2 separate regions of the Homo sapiens genome follow, and region 1 is linked to region 2. Evidence: promoter capture Hi-C in 16 types of primary human blood cells and fetal thymus (Javierre and others, 2016). All regions are on one chromosome and are shown on one strand. The core of a region is centred on a gene start or on the middle of the fragment in contact, and the rest is flanking DNA. Distances in the headings are between cores, read along the strand shown. Region 1 holds the start of DTX3 (deltex E3 ubiquitin ligase 3). Region 2 overlaps NEMP1 (nuclear envelope integral membrane protein 1).

What was found. Contacts are between HindIII fragments. The CHiCAGO score rates a contact against its expected background, and 5 or more counts as called.
Region 1: a contact is called between the fragment with the promoter of DTX3 here and a fragment that was not itself captured in region 2, in 1 of 17 cell types (neutrophils). The highest score is 5.4, in neutrophils.

Annotation. Positions count from the first base shown.
Region 1 is chr12:57,602,866-57,606,815 of GRCh38, reverse strand. DTX3 (deltex E3 ubiquitin ligase 3) reads right to left here and starts at 1,992. Exons shown (of 7, transcript NM_178502.4): 1 at 1,958-1,992; 2 at 1,085-1,245; 3 at 564-626; 4 at 298-373. The coding sequence starts at 298. PIP4K2C (phosphatidylinositol-5-phosphate 4-kinase type 2 gamma) reads right to left here. Exons shown (of 10, transcript NM_024779.5): 10 at 3,398-3,950. RefSeq lists enhancers at 1,598-2,110, 2,111-2,622. The HindIII fragment of the contact is 28,357 bases long and covers 1-3,950 here.
Region 2 is chr12:57,055,792-57,059,646 of GRCh38, reverse strand. It overlaps NEMP1 (nuclear envelope integral membrane protein 1), which reads left to right. Exons shown (of 9, transcript NM_001130963.2): 9 at 1-3,855. Among named protein-coding and RNA genes, the nearest start is that of MYO1A, 7.6 kb to the right of the region's middle. The HindIII fragment of the contact is 2,936 bases long and covers 435-3,370 here.

The DNA.
Region 1 (3,950 bases), core at 743-3,242, 550 kb before region 2:
GTATCAGTGCCTCCTACTTCAGGTTCCTTCCAAACCCTCTATTACCTCTGTTTTCTCAAAGCCTAATCCCCAACCCTTCACCCAAATTCATATTCTGTCTCCCCTTATCTTCCAAACCCAAAACCCACTGAAGAGCAAAAAAGTTTCCAGAGCTATATTATCATCTAAGCCAAGTATCAGTCTTGTTTCTCCTGTCATTTCTCCCAGATCATAGAAACAACTTGCCCCTCCCACCTCTTGGGGAAAAATGGGCTGTTTAAAGGGGAGGGAGACTCTTTGCCCCTCCTTTTTGCTTACTTTGATCCTGAAGAGCTTAGAATTGGCATGCAGGCTCACTCTTCTTTCCCTGCTCCCTACTTGTAGGTCGTGTGACCTGGTAGGGCGGAAAAATGGAAGGAAAGTGAGAAACCCCTTCTCCCAATTCCCATGGCCCCCAACCCAGCAGCCCATGGAACAGAGACAGAAACCTGGGTATAGGTTACTAAGAATGGCATTACTTGGAACATGGAATGAAGGAAACCAGTTTAAGGGTGAAAATTGAGGATCCCTTGCGGGGGAGATACCTGGAAAGCCCATGGAAGATGATGGCAGCAGAAATCCTTCTATTTCCACTCAGCTGACCAGGACTGGGAGTGGGGGAAGGGTAAAAAGTTATGATGGCAAATGTTACCATTCCCCTCAGCCAACCCAGAAATAAAAACTCCCCTTCCATCTCCTCTCTTCTCTGCAGAATTCCATTATCAGCTTCTCCCCAAGTTGCTCAAGAAGGAACTTCAACATGCTAACCTTCCTCCTTTCTTCCCCAGCTCTGAGGCCCCCAAGAAAGCCTAGGGCACACATAAGAGAAGTCAGGAAAGAAAACGCCCACACAGGTGGAGGTCTTCTTGCCACCTCCCTCAGATCACATGGACCGGAATATTTCCTATGCTCCCCAACTCCTCGCCTGCTCCACATTGCCAAATAATTCAGCCCCTATTGCCAGGGAGCCTTCCTTGAGAGCTAACTCAGTCCCTTCTGCTGAAGTCTGTTAAGGATGTGAACAAAGTGGCAGCAGCCCCTGCAATAACAAAGTTCTCATTGTCACCTTTTAAACCCAGCACAGGCAGTGCTGTCTGTCAGCTCCCAAGTCTGGCATTTAGGGAGGGGCGGGGCTCACACAAGGGCTCAGCTGGAGGGGCCTGATGTTTTCCCTGAGTCTGGTCGCATTGGGCTACGGGGCTGTCTCCACAACACTTCCAAATGCAGCTCAAACAGAAAGAAGGGCCATTAGTGTGACCTCCATTTATTGACTGATCCAAGAAGGAGCAGCTGTCCCTTCATGCCTCCATCATCGTCCCCCAAGGCCAGATGCACCTCGAGATTCATAAGTGAAAATGGAACCCTAGAGTCTCAGCCCATACAGTCTATCCGCGATGCAACACTTCTCTCCCCATCACGGGGGACCCAGGACCTAGGTGTCCTAGGTCCAAGTCCTGCTGGCACAGAAAAGGGAGGCGGGGCCCCAGTTTAGGGTGGGTCTGTGATTCCTCTGTGGCAACCCAGGCCGGACAAGGAACCAGTCTCTCCCTCCAGACAGAGGCCAGAGGGAGGCACAGCCCGGATGGGCAAGGGTCCCTGGGGGCATCCACTGAAGCAGCTCCCGCCCTCCCCCCACGGCCTCCTCCAAGACCCGACCCGGAACCAACTCCCCACATCCCTCAGTAGCCAAAGCCCCCGGATCCCCACCGCCGGGTGGGGGTGCATGTCGGCCCGATCGCAGCCCTCAGAACCCCCGAATGGAGGCCAAGGCTGGAGGGTGCTAGAAAGATGATCGGCCGGGCACGGAGCGGGGAGCCCGGAGCCGCGCGCGGGGAGGGGAGGTGGAGGAGGGGGCGCCGGGGGAGCGGGGGGCGCGTGAGGGGTGCGAGCGGGGCCCGGGGGGCGCGCGGTGGGTGTGGGGGGCGCCGGGCTCACCTACCTCTCGTCAGCGCCGCCATTGCCGGTCACATGACTGAGGCTGTTGCTGGGATGACGGTCCGGGCCTTAGCAACAAGGAGGGGGAGACCCCGAAAGGTGGGGGATTGCAGGGGGTGCAGGCTGAGGAAAAGGGAAGGAGGGAGGACAGCACCCCCTTTCCCCTCACAGGTGATAATCACCGTTCCTTTGACCCCCTTCTATCCGCAAGCCCCTGCCCTTCCTCCCCAAAACAAAAATGGAGGCGCTGTCCCAGTCTTTGGAGGGAGGGGGTGGCGTCATGGAACTGAGGGTAGGAGGTTAAATCCCTGGAGACGCCACCCTACTCGCTCCCCGCTCCCGGCGGAGCACTCTCCCTTTTCTTTCCCAGCCAGCTGCGTAGCAGCTCCCAGGAGCTGGTGGTGGATGGGTGGGTGAAGTGTTGGTGGGTATATGGGGATTCGGGGGGAGGGCGGCAATTTTTTGAATCCTTATGGTAGAAGGGCCTTTGAGGAACAATGTGGGATGGGAAGAGTCATAGTAAAAAGAAAAGCATTGGCTCTAAAAAATAAACAAATCCGGGTACTAAACTATTTCAATCCCCTCCCTCATCTCCTGCCTCTTTCTAGATTGTTACCTCCTATGACCCCCACAACCTGCTCTCAGATGATCATTGGTCAGTGCCTCTGATTTTTCTTTCCACAAACAGGGATATGGAGGCTGGTGCAGAATGGGAAGCGAATACATTTTTTAAAAAGTGGCTCGAGGTGGTGGTGGTGTCAAGTGTATGGTTCAAATAGAGTTAAAAACTCTCAAAGAAGAAAAAAAAAAAGCTCTGCTCTGCTTCCCACATCAAGCAGTCTCCGCCCAATCCAACTCACTTCCCTGGGGCCACATCAAGCCAGGTTTTTCCACCAGCCAAAAGACTTCCTCAGCCAAGACAGGCAGGAATCTCCCAAACTGGCAACAACCTCTATTCATCCACCCCTTTTTCACTCCCCCCTCTAGACTGGAGGGCTAGTCACTTTCTTCACTTTCCCAGGACCCTGCTGTACTCTTCCTTCCCTCCAGGAAGAGGACAGCTTTCCCAGGAAGCCTGGGGGAATACTAGATTCCTTTTCTTTTAGCTGGTGGGCTGAGAGGCCTACTCACCTTTACAAAGATGGAGTGTTAGCAAGCCCAGAACTCTGGGAAGAGGAAGGGTCCCATCACCCTACTCTTCCCTGGCCCTCACTACCGCTGACCTCCCACAAGGTTAAAGACTAAGTTTTCCATTCCCGTGCACACCCTTCACAGCCTTTTTAAAAAAGTTCACAGCCATCTGTCTAGAAACCCACATCCTTAGTTAGGGGCCCAACACCTTGAACACCAGAATTCTTCAGCTGGTCTCTGCACCCTTAAACACAGGCTCCCTGAGAGAAGTGAAATTTAAAAAAAAAAAAAAAAAGGCATTTCTGTACAGAAATTTGGATTGAATAATTTATTCCCTGTATTATTATAGTAACAGGAGCAAATACATAAATTTTTATTAATAAAACAAAAAAGATGAAAAACAGAAGCAACAAATGAAGACATCCATACTGCCCATAACACATCAGCCATATGATCAGAAAACCCATTTCTAAAGAGCAATGGTTGCTGGTGTCACAGAGTTTTATTGCATTCATCGGGGGAAAGGGAGATGGTTGGAATGAAAAAGATCCATCAGTCTTCTGACAGGAAGATGTTATATGGGGGCTCCAACCCCTAACTGGGTACTCCTCTTGCTACCACCTTTGGAGCAGAAGATGAAGGGGAGAGGGAGCTTCTCCCTATGGCCTCATGGCTTCTTGTGAGACAGATCAGTCCAGCCAGATACAGAGCAAAGCAGCTTTGCATCACCACAGGCCAGTTGCTGATGCCCAGCTTTATGTCTAAAAAAAAAAAAAGTGGAAGCCTCAAGGGGGATGGAGGATAGCAAGAAGAATGGGTGCCTTGGCCCCAGAGGCATTGTAGGGAGAGGAAGACAATGTATCTCA
Region 2 (3,855 bases), core at 653-3,152:
TTAAGCTAACAGCCCACTTTTATGTTTCCAGAGAAATTGGATGGCCACAGCTAGCATGGCATTCTAGCTCCTTCTTGAAAGTTGATTCAATCATGGCATTTCTGTCACTGGCTGGCTCTCCAAAGTAAGAACTGTTGTTAAGTGCAGGAATGCTTTTAGACTATAGGCTGCAACTTCCAGAGAGAAATCCACAAATCTGAGCCTCCTTCACTCCAGCTTTTATTTCAGTGACTTTAGAATAATTATTGATTTAACTGTTTTGGGAGGAAAATAGATTTTTATTGTTTTGTTTTTTAAATGAATGTCTTTTAAAAAACATAACAAACTCATGTTCCAGAACCAGCAAGTGCTCCAGAGTGACACACCCCCTAGGCCCCTACATATTTATTAATATGGATTATCCATTAAAGCCCCAGGAGCTGTTGTTTTAAGCTTTGATTTAGTTCTCATACATATGATAGAAAGTCCTATTTGCCTTTAGGAACATGCCTGTAGGCTCTTCTGCAGGTGAGATGTACTGGGCTTTTTATTATATTCAACTTTCAATTCCATCTTAAAAAACATTTGTATTCTTCTCTTCCCATTCTTCCTTACCCTGCCTTTGCCCTTTCAGGAAGGGTCAGTTCCCTTACCTGTGAACTATGTATGTTCAGAGTAGCATTATTCCTGCTAGCTAGGAGAAGTCATCTTGTTTAGGGGATTTGGATGCTTTTTATACGTTCTCCATTTTCCTGTCATTGGGTCATGTTATCTTTGAGTTGCTATGAAATCAGGAAACTGTCTCCTTTTCCTTTCCCTTCCTTTGTCTACATGCTCTGTCCATTCCTTTCAGCCTTTTCTCACCACCCATACTCCCCCAAATCTGGGTAATTTTTAAGCCTTGAAACTATGTAGTTTCTTGATACACAATTTGTAGTTATGCAGCAGCCACAATTTGCATTGCCAGGAAATAGGCTCCAGGTTATCTTCATGCCTCTGGGTGCTCATTCAGCTGTCAAGTTTCCATGAACTTACACTTATTTATGATTGCGTTTCTGACCTGAGATGTATGCTGCCTGTTATTGCAGTAGCATTAGTTTCAGATTCTTTTGCCATTGCAAAGTACCCCTTATAAACCAGCAATGTCATCTGTGAGGAAGCAAATTCTCAAGTGTCTGTCATTTACTTGGTTCTTTTTCTTTGTGGTCTTCACCCTTATACCCTGGAAAAGTCTGTAATTACCTTAGCCAGGAAGATAGATGGTCATGGCAAGCGCACAGCACCAGACTTACTGGCTCACCAAGATGATGGAAAAAGGCAGATGATTTTTTAAAAAGCCGTAATGACTCCTTTAGACCAGCCATTTAGCGTGGTAATTTTGAAAGGCCTAGCTCCATTGCAGACTTCCAAAGGGTCAGCTCTGAGACTGCCCTCCAGGTGGGCAGTTGATTATTTCCACCAGTGTTTTCCAGAGCCTTAAACTGTCCTAAGTGACAACTACCTCAGTTGGCAGGAAAGAGACATATAGTAGAAAGTGAAAAATGAGCAGTATTTGGGCAGATGCTATGGGTTACAGTTGAAGGGTAAAAGGAACTTTACATTGGGAAACCTTTATACCCTTGTGAATTATGTACATGGTAAAATGTTCTCTCTCTACAAAGAACTATTAAAACTTCTGAAATATACTATTTTTTACCTTATTTATAGAAATTGAGACCTAGCATATTTAAGCATAAGTTTATTTTAAAAAATAATTCAACTCGTGCAAGTGGTCTCAGGATTCTCTGGAGATTTTGGTGCCTCCCCTACTTAGGGAGGTGATAGCTTGCCTATAAGGGTGACTTTTCCTGATCATGTCTTTATTTCAATGAGAAAGCACTGTGAAATTGTGAAAGATTCTCCTCTTTCTCTGTTTAATAAACCCCCATGAAATATAGTTTCCATCTCTAGACCAGTTTTTTTTCCACCGTGTTTAGACTTGAGGTGAATAAAATCAAACTGTTTTTTACTCCCTATCTGGTAGTTGGAGACCTGAGCTGTAGGCAGTGGAGATGGCAATTGGTTCTGCAGCCTGAGAGTTGCTCTCACACAGTGAAGGACGGTGCTGCTCTGGTGTGCTGTGTGTCCTTGCCCTGCCTGCCTGTGGCTCTGCCCAGATGCTTCAGATCCTCTGTGTTCCGGAGATTGCTTGACTTCAACCTTCTTTAGGAGCTGCTCTTGTCTCCCTCTTGGCCACTTAGTTTGCTGGCTCAGTCACTACTTGAAGACCCCATTTAATTTTTCTCTGGCAGTTATAGCTCTTGTGATTTCAGTACAGTCTCATCTCTCAGACCAATCTCATCAAGAAGGATTGAAGGGATAACTATGAGGTAAGCTGGACATTGGAGCCGTGTTTGCTGCCACGTCAGCGTCTTGCTGGGTGAATGTCAAGCCATAAATGGGCTCCAGGGCTCTGGATCTCATCAGCATTGGAAATCTATTGCCTCTCATCAGTCTGACCAAATTATGTAGAGCATTAATGTAGAGACTCCCATTAATGGGAATACAAGAGGCAGCTGGCATAAAACATTTCTTTCACTTTCCTTTCCCACTCAGATTGCTTCAAGAGACCAACAGAACACAGGGATCAAAAACAAGGAAAATTTAGCAACTTCATTACCTTCTAATAAGTAATTCCTGTTAGCCACTGCATCCCACCAAAACTAGTTTATTTTTCCCCTCAAATTCATGATTTTTACGTCTGTTACAAAGGGAATTTTGCTGATAGCTCTTTGGGTCCCACTGTTCCATTTTATGCTAATAGATTCCATTCTAGGGCCCAGCCGTCTCTTGACTGATGGTGTTCCCTTTAACCCTTGGCATGTATAATAGAATTTTGGTGAATGAAAGAACCCAAATAGGCCAGATAGTCCCCCCAGGCCCTGATATCCATAAAAGGCTTGGGAATGCATTATGTAATTGTCCTTAGTCTTTTTGTTGTTTTAGAAAAAAAAAACAAGATGGGCTCAGATGGATGCCTACGTAAAAATGGTTCCTAGCTGTGTACTCATAACTTTTCTTTGAATTGAGTAGTGAAAGGAAGGAGGAGGAAAGGAAATTAAATGTCCTTCTAGTATTCTCTGGACTCAAGTCTGACATATGAGATAATAACCTATATTGAAATGCCAAGAATTGTATCTGAAACAAGAGAACAGTTTGACACATTTATCATGCCTTCATATTACATATTAACTGAAACCAATTAATAAACATATGAAATATCCATTGCACAAGGCAAAGGCACCTAAACCTTTTGTTTCTTTTTCTACATAGCAGAAATTGATTTTTTTTTTATTTTTTTAGGGGAACCTATATAATTATGACCCAGTGATGTCTTTTGGTGACTTAAGCTTATGAATTCAGGTTACAATTGAGTTGATTCTAGATGGTTACTACCTTGAAAAGGATGTTGGTGCCTTATGTGACACGAGCCAGAGCCTGCTGGGAATAAACAAAGCAGATTCATGCCAACACCAACTCGTAGCTTTAGTGGCAGATGGGAGTGGTCACAGACTCCCAAAATGTGGGGCTTTGGATTTCCACACCATCCCACGTGTGTGTCATCTTCCTCTTTCACACTCTTGATGATAATTTGAAAATGGTGAAATCACCTCTGAATTTGCCTATAGCATGAGCACATTCTTATGACAACATAACAAATAGTTCATAATGTGAATATTAGAAACTGTTACAGCCTGCAGTTACCATAATTTTCCATGTTTGTGGAATTGATATTGAAATAGCAGGGCTAAGGAATTACTGGCAAGTTTTAGCCTGTGGGTAATACCTTAGGGTTATTTAAATATTTGTAATTTTATTTAAATGTTCATGAATGTT